Regions from separate parts of the Homo sapiens genome. Here region 2 is linked to region 1. The links are contacts of gene promoters, found by promoter capture Hi-C in blood cells and fetal thymus (Javierre and others, 2016). All regions are on one chromosome and are shown on one strand. Each heading gives the region's core, a stretch centred on a gene start or on the middle of the fragment in contact. The rest is flanking DNA. Distances are from core to core; before and after follow the strand shown.

What was found. Contacts are between HindIII fragments. The CHiCAGO score rates a contact against its expected background, and 5 or more counts as called.
Region 2: a contact is called between a fragment that was not itself captured here and the fragment with the promoter of TGDS in region 1, in 1 of 17 cell types (total CD4 T cells). The highest score is 6.0, in total CD4 T cells.

Annotation. Positions count from the first base shown.
Region 1 is chr13:94,594,803-94,597,620 of GRCh38, forward strand. It overlaps TGDS (TDP-glucose 4,6-dehydratase), which reads right to left and starts at 1,350. Exons shown (of 12, transcript NM_014305.4): 1 at 1,249-1,350. The coding sequence starts at 1,334. RefSeq lists an enhancer at 1,214-1,523. The HindIII fragment of the contact is 5,991 bases long and covers 1-2,818 here.
Region 2 is chr13:95,672,434-95,675,251 of GRCh38, forward strand. DNAJC3-DT (DNAJC3 divergent transcript) reads right to left here. Exons shown (of 2, transcript NR_132117.1): 2 at 402-2,235. Among named protein-coding and RNA genes, the nearest start is that of DNAJC3-DT, 3.1 kb to the right of the region's middle. The HindIII fragment of the contact is 2,769 bases long and covers 85-2,818 here.

The sequences.
Region 1 (2,818 bases), core at 100-2,599:
CCATAAACAGGAATCCTCACATTCCCACTTCTTCCACTAGCCACTGAGTTCCTTGAGGGGAGGATAGGAGAGTTTCCTGTTTATTACTCTTGCATTCATCCATTCCACAATTACTAAAGACTTATATAGAATGGGCCAGGCATTCTTCCAGGTGCTGAATGAACAGTAGTCTCTGTCCTTACCGAGTTTGCATTTTAGAGTGGGGATACAAGCAATAAACAAGCAGACACAAATCCGCAATATAATTTCAGGTAGAGGTTAAGTGTGCTAGTTGGGAGAGGGGCTATTTTAGATATGGTGGTCAGGTAAGAACTCTCTGAGGTGCTATCTGAATAAAAACCAGAATTGAGTGGTGCAAACAGCCTAAGGAAAGGGGAAGCAAGTGCAAAGGCCTCAAGACAGAAGTGTGTATCTTGGTGTGTTCCAAGAACTAAGAGGGGAAGCATGGCAGGTACAGAAAAGCAGATCAGGTTGCAAAAGTAGGGCTTGGGCACTTGAGTTTTCTAGATATGGTAGAGTTTGGGCTTTATTCTTAAGTGTGGCAGGAACCACTGAAGTAAAATCCTGCTTCTACCATGATCTGATTGACTTAAGAAACACTGACTTGTATGTGAGCAACAGGCTTTAAAGGAACATGAGTGGACGCAGTTATGGCCAACCAAGAGGCTACAGCAGCAGTCGAGGCAAAAGATGACAGTAAACATGGGCTAGGGTGGAAACGGGAAACTGGTGAGAAGTGGTCGCCGTAAGGATATACTTTGGAAGTAGAGAGGACTTGCTGCTCGAATGTGGGTCTGAGGAAGAAAAGGGTGTCAACAGTGGATTTGTAAAAGTTTGCTGATTACATAGATGTCCTATTATAGTCCTTAAATCGTTTTGGGGGTGCCTATATGTACAGGGCCCATCGTGGGGTGTGGGTGCTCTAGGCTGGAGGTGGGAAGCAGTCGGTGAGCAGCTTAGGGTAACTTGCACGCACTCAAGGAGTGACATGGTGAGCACCTCCGGCCACAGAAGGGCGGAGAGTAACGCAGCTTTGGAAGAGGCGTTTTAAAGAAGTCAGTTTCAAAGGAACCACTTCTTTGCAGGCCAGAGAGAGAAAAGCTGGTCCAGGTCGTGCATTAGGACCCTCCCCATATCAGAATAAGGACCCCTCAAAGCTGGACCCAAATTACCTAGGGCAAGCAGAGCTGCGGGAAAAGGTAGGGGTTTCTGGGGAGCCACTGCTTGGCTAGCGGCGCCATTACCTACATGAAACCAGCACCGCCGGTCACCAGGACCCGCTTCGCAAAGCCGCCGGGAAGACCCCACGGTTCCTCCCAACACGCCGCCGACATCTCCCAGCTCAGCAGTGCCTAGTACCGTAAAGAGTATGGTCTGAAAAGCGCAGGGAAGTTCCGCCGCGACCTTTTGCGACGCGCCTCGCTCGCGGGACACGTTAACAGAGCAGCCAGAGGCAGCTTCCGGAGACTGCTCTGTGGCCAGTTTCTGCCCGCCCACTAGCGGGCTGGGCGGGGCCGCGCTCACCACGCGCAGGCGCTGCTCCTTTCCGCCCTTGCCTGGTCCGCCAGGTGCAATTGGGGTCGCCCGGATGGTAGGGGTATGGAACGTTTTTCCCGGAAATGCCACCACTATGGATCAGATTTATGAATGAGTACCTTTTTTCATTCTTGTACTACAGCCATCTCTAGAGGTTACCTATCAGTTGAGCTGAGAACGGGGAGTTGTTGCAGATGGAGATGGGAGGTTGCAATTTAAAAATGATTTTTTTTTTTAGTGGGGCGGGGACAGGGTCTCCCTCTGTTACCCAGGCTGGAGTGCAGTGGTGCGATCACGGCTCACTGCAGCGTCGACCAATGGGGCTCAAGCAATCCTCCCACCTCAGCCTCCTGAGTAGCTAGGAATACAGTCGTGCGCCACCACGCCCGCCTAATTTTTGGTAGAGATGGGTTTCGCCCTGTTGTCCAGGCTGGTCTCGAACTCCTGGGATCTAGCCAACCTCCCGCCTCAGCCTCCCAAGGTCCTGGGATTACAGGCGTGAGCACCGTGCCTGGCCTGCAAAATGATCTTTTGCTGTTGTTAATATTATTTCAGGCCGGGCGCCGTGGCTTACGCCTGTAATCCCAGGACTTTGGGAGGCCGAGGTGGGCGGATCACCTGAGGTCAGGATTCGAGACCAGCTTGGCCAACATGGTGAAACCCTGTCTCTACTAAAAATACAAAAATTAGCCGGGCGTGGTGGCGGGCGCCTGTAATCCCAGCTACTTGGGAGGCCGAGGCAGGAGAATTGCTTGAACCCGGAAGGCAGAGGTTGCAGTGAGCCGAGACCGCACCATCGCACTCCAGCCTGGGCAACAACAGCAAAACTCCGTCTCAAAAAATAATAATATTATTATTACAGACAGCGCAGAAGGCTTGCAATCATGATAAAGATATTCCCTAGGTCCTACGCTGATGTCTTATTCTATTCTCTCCTTTGCTCACTCCGCCCCAGCCTCCCCACCCTCCTTGCTCTTCATTCAATGTGCCAGGCATGCTACTTCCCCGGGACCTTGATTGTCTTTCCCCAGATGTCTGCCTAGTTTTTACCCTTACTTCCGTTTTCAGCTTGAATGGCATCCTATTGACCACCACAATTAAAATAGCGAGCTCTGCCCAACCCTGCCGAATCATCTTATCCTTCTTTATTTTTCTTCCTAGCACTCAACATTTACATTGATGTCACTGCCCTCTGTTTAGTGTTCCATGAGGTCAGGGGCTTTGTTTTGTTTTCTGCTGTAATCGCATGTCCTTAGAGACTTGGCACAGAATAAATGACCAT
Region 2 (2,818 bases), core at 219-2,718, 1.1 Mb after region 1:
TTATATTTGTGTTATTACAAAAATTTTATAAGATCAAACCTATTTAAAGACATGTCATTATGTCACTTAATTTAGAAATTAGAAAGCTTAAATTTTGAAGAGTTTACCCATTGTATATAAAATATAATATTGTACTTAGTTAATTTCTTATAAAATCAGAAGATATATAGCTGCCTTTAAATTAGTATTAACACATTCCAGTGATCAAAGATTCATCTATTTATCGGAAACAGTACATGAATCTTTTAAAATACAATTTTTACACTTTGTAGTCCAGAATTGTAATGTTAAAGACTCTTTAAATCACACTTCAAAACTTTTAGCTCATAATTATAATAACACAACCTATTATTTAAATGCACTCACTCACATTTTAAAAATAAAAAATACAGTGAACAGCATTTTTCTTTTAGATATTTTACTAGATTGTTTGGACTAGAATATAACTAGAATGTGTATGTAGCAATAGACATTTTAAAAACTCAAATAACCTACAATTTTCAAACTGAGAGAAAAAGAAGAACATCAAAAAGAGGAGAAAAGAGCTGGCTTAGGCAACTGTTATCTCTGTAAAGGGCTAATTCTCTTTCTTCTGCAAGGAAAGGAGATAAAATTCGATGCAGAAAAACTCATCTGTACACAAATACACAAAAGAGAGTCACTGCAGTTGATTTAAAAATACTCAGGCCCTTCACAATATTTTAAATAAACTTCTATTGCTGAAACAACTTTCAAGTAAGGGCATAAGGATAATACAGGGAGGTCCCAAATACCCCTTATTTTTCTGTATTGTTAGCATCTTGCATAACCATGGTACATTTGTCAAAACTAAGAAAGTAATAATGGTACACTACTATTAAACTTGAGACTATTCATATTTCAGTAGTTTTTCCACTAATGTCTATTTTCTCTAGGATCCAGTTCAACACAGCACACTGCATTCAGTCATCAATTAAGTTTCCTTAGTTTCCTCTGGTCTGTTACAGTATTTCAATCTTTCCTTGTTCCCCACGACGTTGATAGTTTTGAGGAATACTGATCAGGTGTTTTATAGAATGTCCTTCAATTTTAGTTTGATTTTTTTTTTTTCATGTTTAGACTAGATTGGGTTATAGGTTTTGAGAATACCACAGAGGTGAATTGCCCTTCTCATCACAGTATATTGGGAGTATATGCTATCAACATGACTTGATGATATTAACTTTGACCACCTGGCCAAGACAGTGTTTCCAGGTTTCTGTACTATGAAGTTACTCTCCTCCTCCCTTTCCATACTCTGTTCTTTGGAAGTTAGTCACTAAGTCCAGCCCACACTCAAGGAAGGAGGGAAAATAAGCTCCACCTGATGAAGGGGGACGTATTGTGTTAAGCTGAATAACGGTCCCCCAAATATGTTTACATTCTAATCTCCTGTCATTGTTCTATAGCAAAAGGCAGTTTTTGCAGATGTGATTAAATTGAGGAACTTGAGTAGGAAGAATATCCTGGATTATCTCAGCAGGCCCAATATAATTAATTACAAGGATCCTTGTAAGACGGAGGCAAGGTCAAAAATGACAGAAGGTGATGTGAATACAAAAGCGGAGATTATAGTCATGCGGCCAGAAGCCAAAAAACAACATAAAAGAGGGTGGAAAGCAGAGAAGACAAGATGTGATATAAAAGCCAAATTTTATATGAAGGTACCAAAATTTGATCAGAATCCCAAAATCCTTGAAAATAAACTGTAAATTTGACATATAAGGGTCATTTTTTGTTCCTCAGATTGGCAAAAACTGAAAATCAATTATATCTAGTGATGGTGACTAGGCAGGAATATAAACAGCTGATAGGAATAGAAATTATTCCTTTAGGGAAAGATAATCTGACAACGCATCTTAAAAGTTTAAACAAATTCTTTGATTAAGCAAGTTCAAAAACCTAGTTTTTTTTTTTTTTTTTTTTATAAAGTGTCACTCTGTTGCTCAGTCTGGAGTGCAGTGACATGATCTTAGCTCACTGCAACCTCAAACTCCTGGGTTGAAGCAATCCTCTGCCTCAGTCTCCCTGAGTAGCTAGGGCAACAGGCACGAGCCACCGCACCTGGCTAGTTTTAAATTTTTTTGCAGAGACAGGATCCTGCTATGTTGCTCAGGCTGGTCGCAAACTCCCGGCCTCAAATAATCCTCCCATCTTGGCTTCCCAAAGCGCTAGCATTACAGGTGTGAGCCACTGCGCCCAGCCTAGAAATGTTTCCTAGAAATAAAAGCACAAGTTTGTAAACATAAATGTGGAAGGATGTATATGGTGGCATTAACTTAATGCTGACTTTTTTGTTCTTAATTTGGCACAAAAAGGTGTTTATAAGTGCTCTACTTGTTTCTGAACATTTATTTCTCCTCATAGTTAATTCCTAAACAAATCTTATTCCCTTTACCTACAAAATATGTTCTAGATCTGTTCACTCCTCTCTACCAACATTGTTTTTCCTAGTCAATAAACATAGATCAACCTAATAAAAATTGCATAATACTCTTAATTTTGGATATATCATAAATATGCTACCATTGTTTTTTAAGTCTTTTGCTACTATAATTAACAGTATGAATTACAGTGGAGATTTAATGTTTAACTTCAAAAAGACTCCATAGAGTCTGACGAATGCAAACATATTTACAGTAACTTTTCTTACACTCACTAGATTACTTTGATTTTCGGTTTTATTGGCAAGAGTGATTCGTGAAAACCATGACTAGATGAACATTGGAGGAAACATTCCCAAGCATTAATCACTTAATTTTAGTTTTGTACATTTTTTTCTGTCTAATGTTACCTTTGT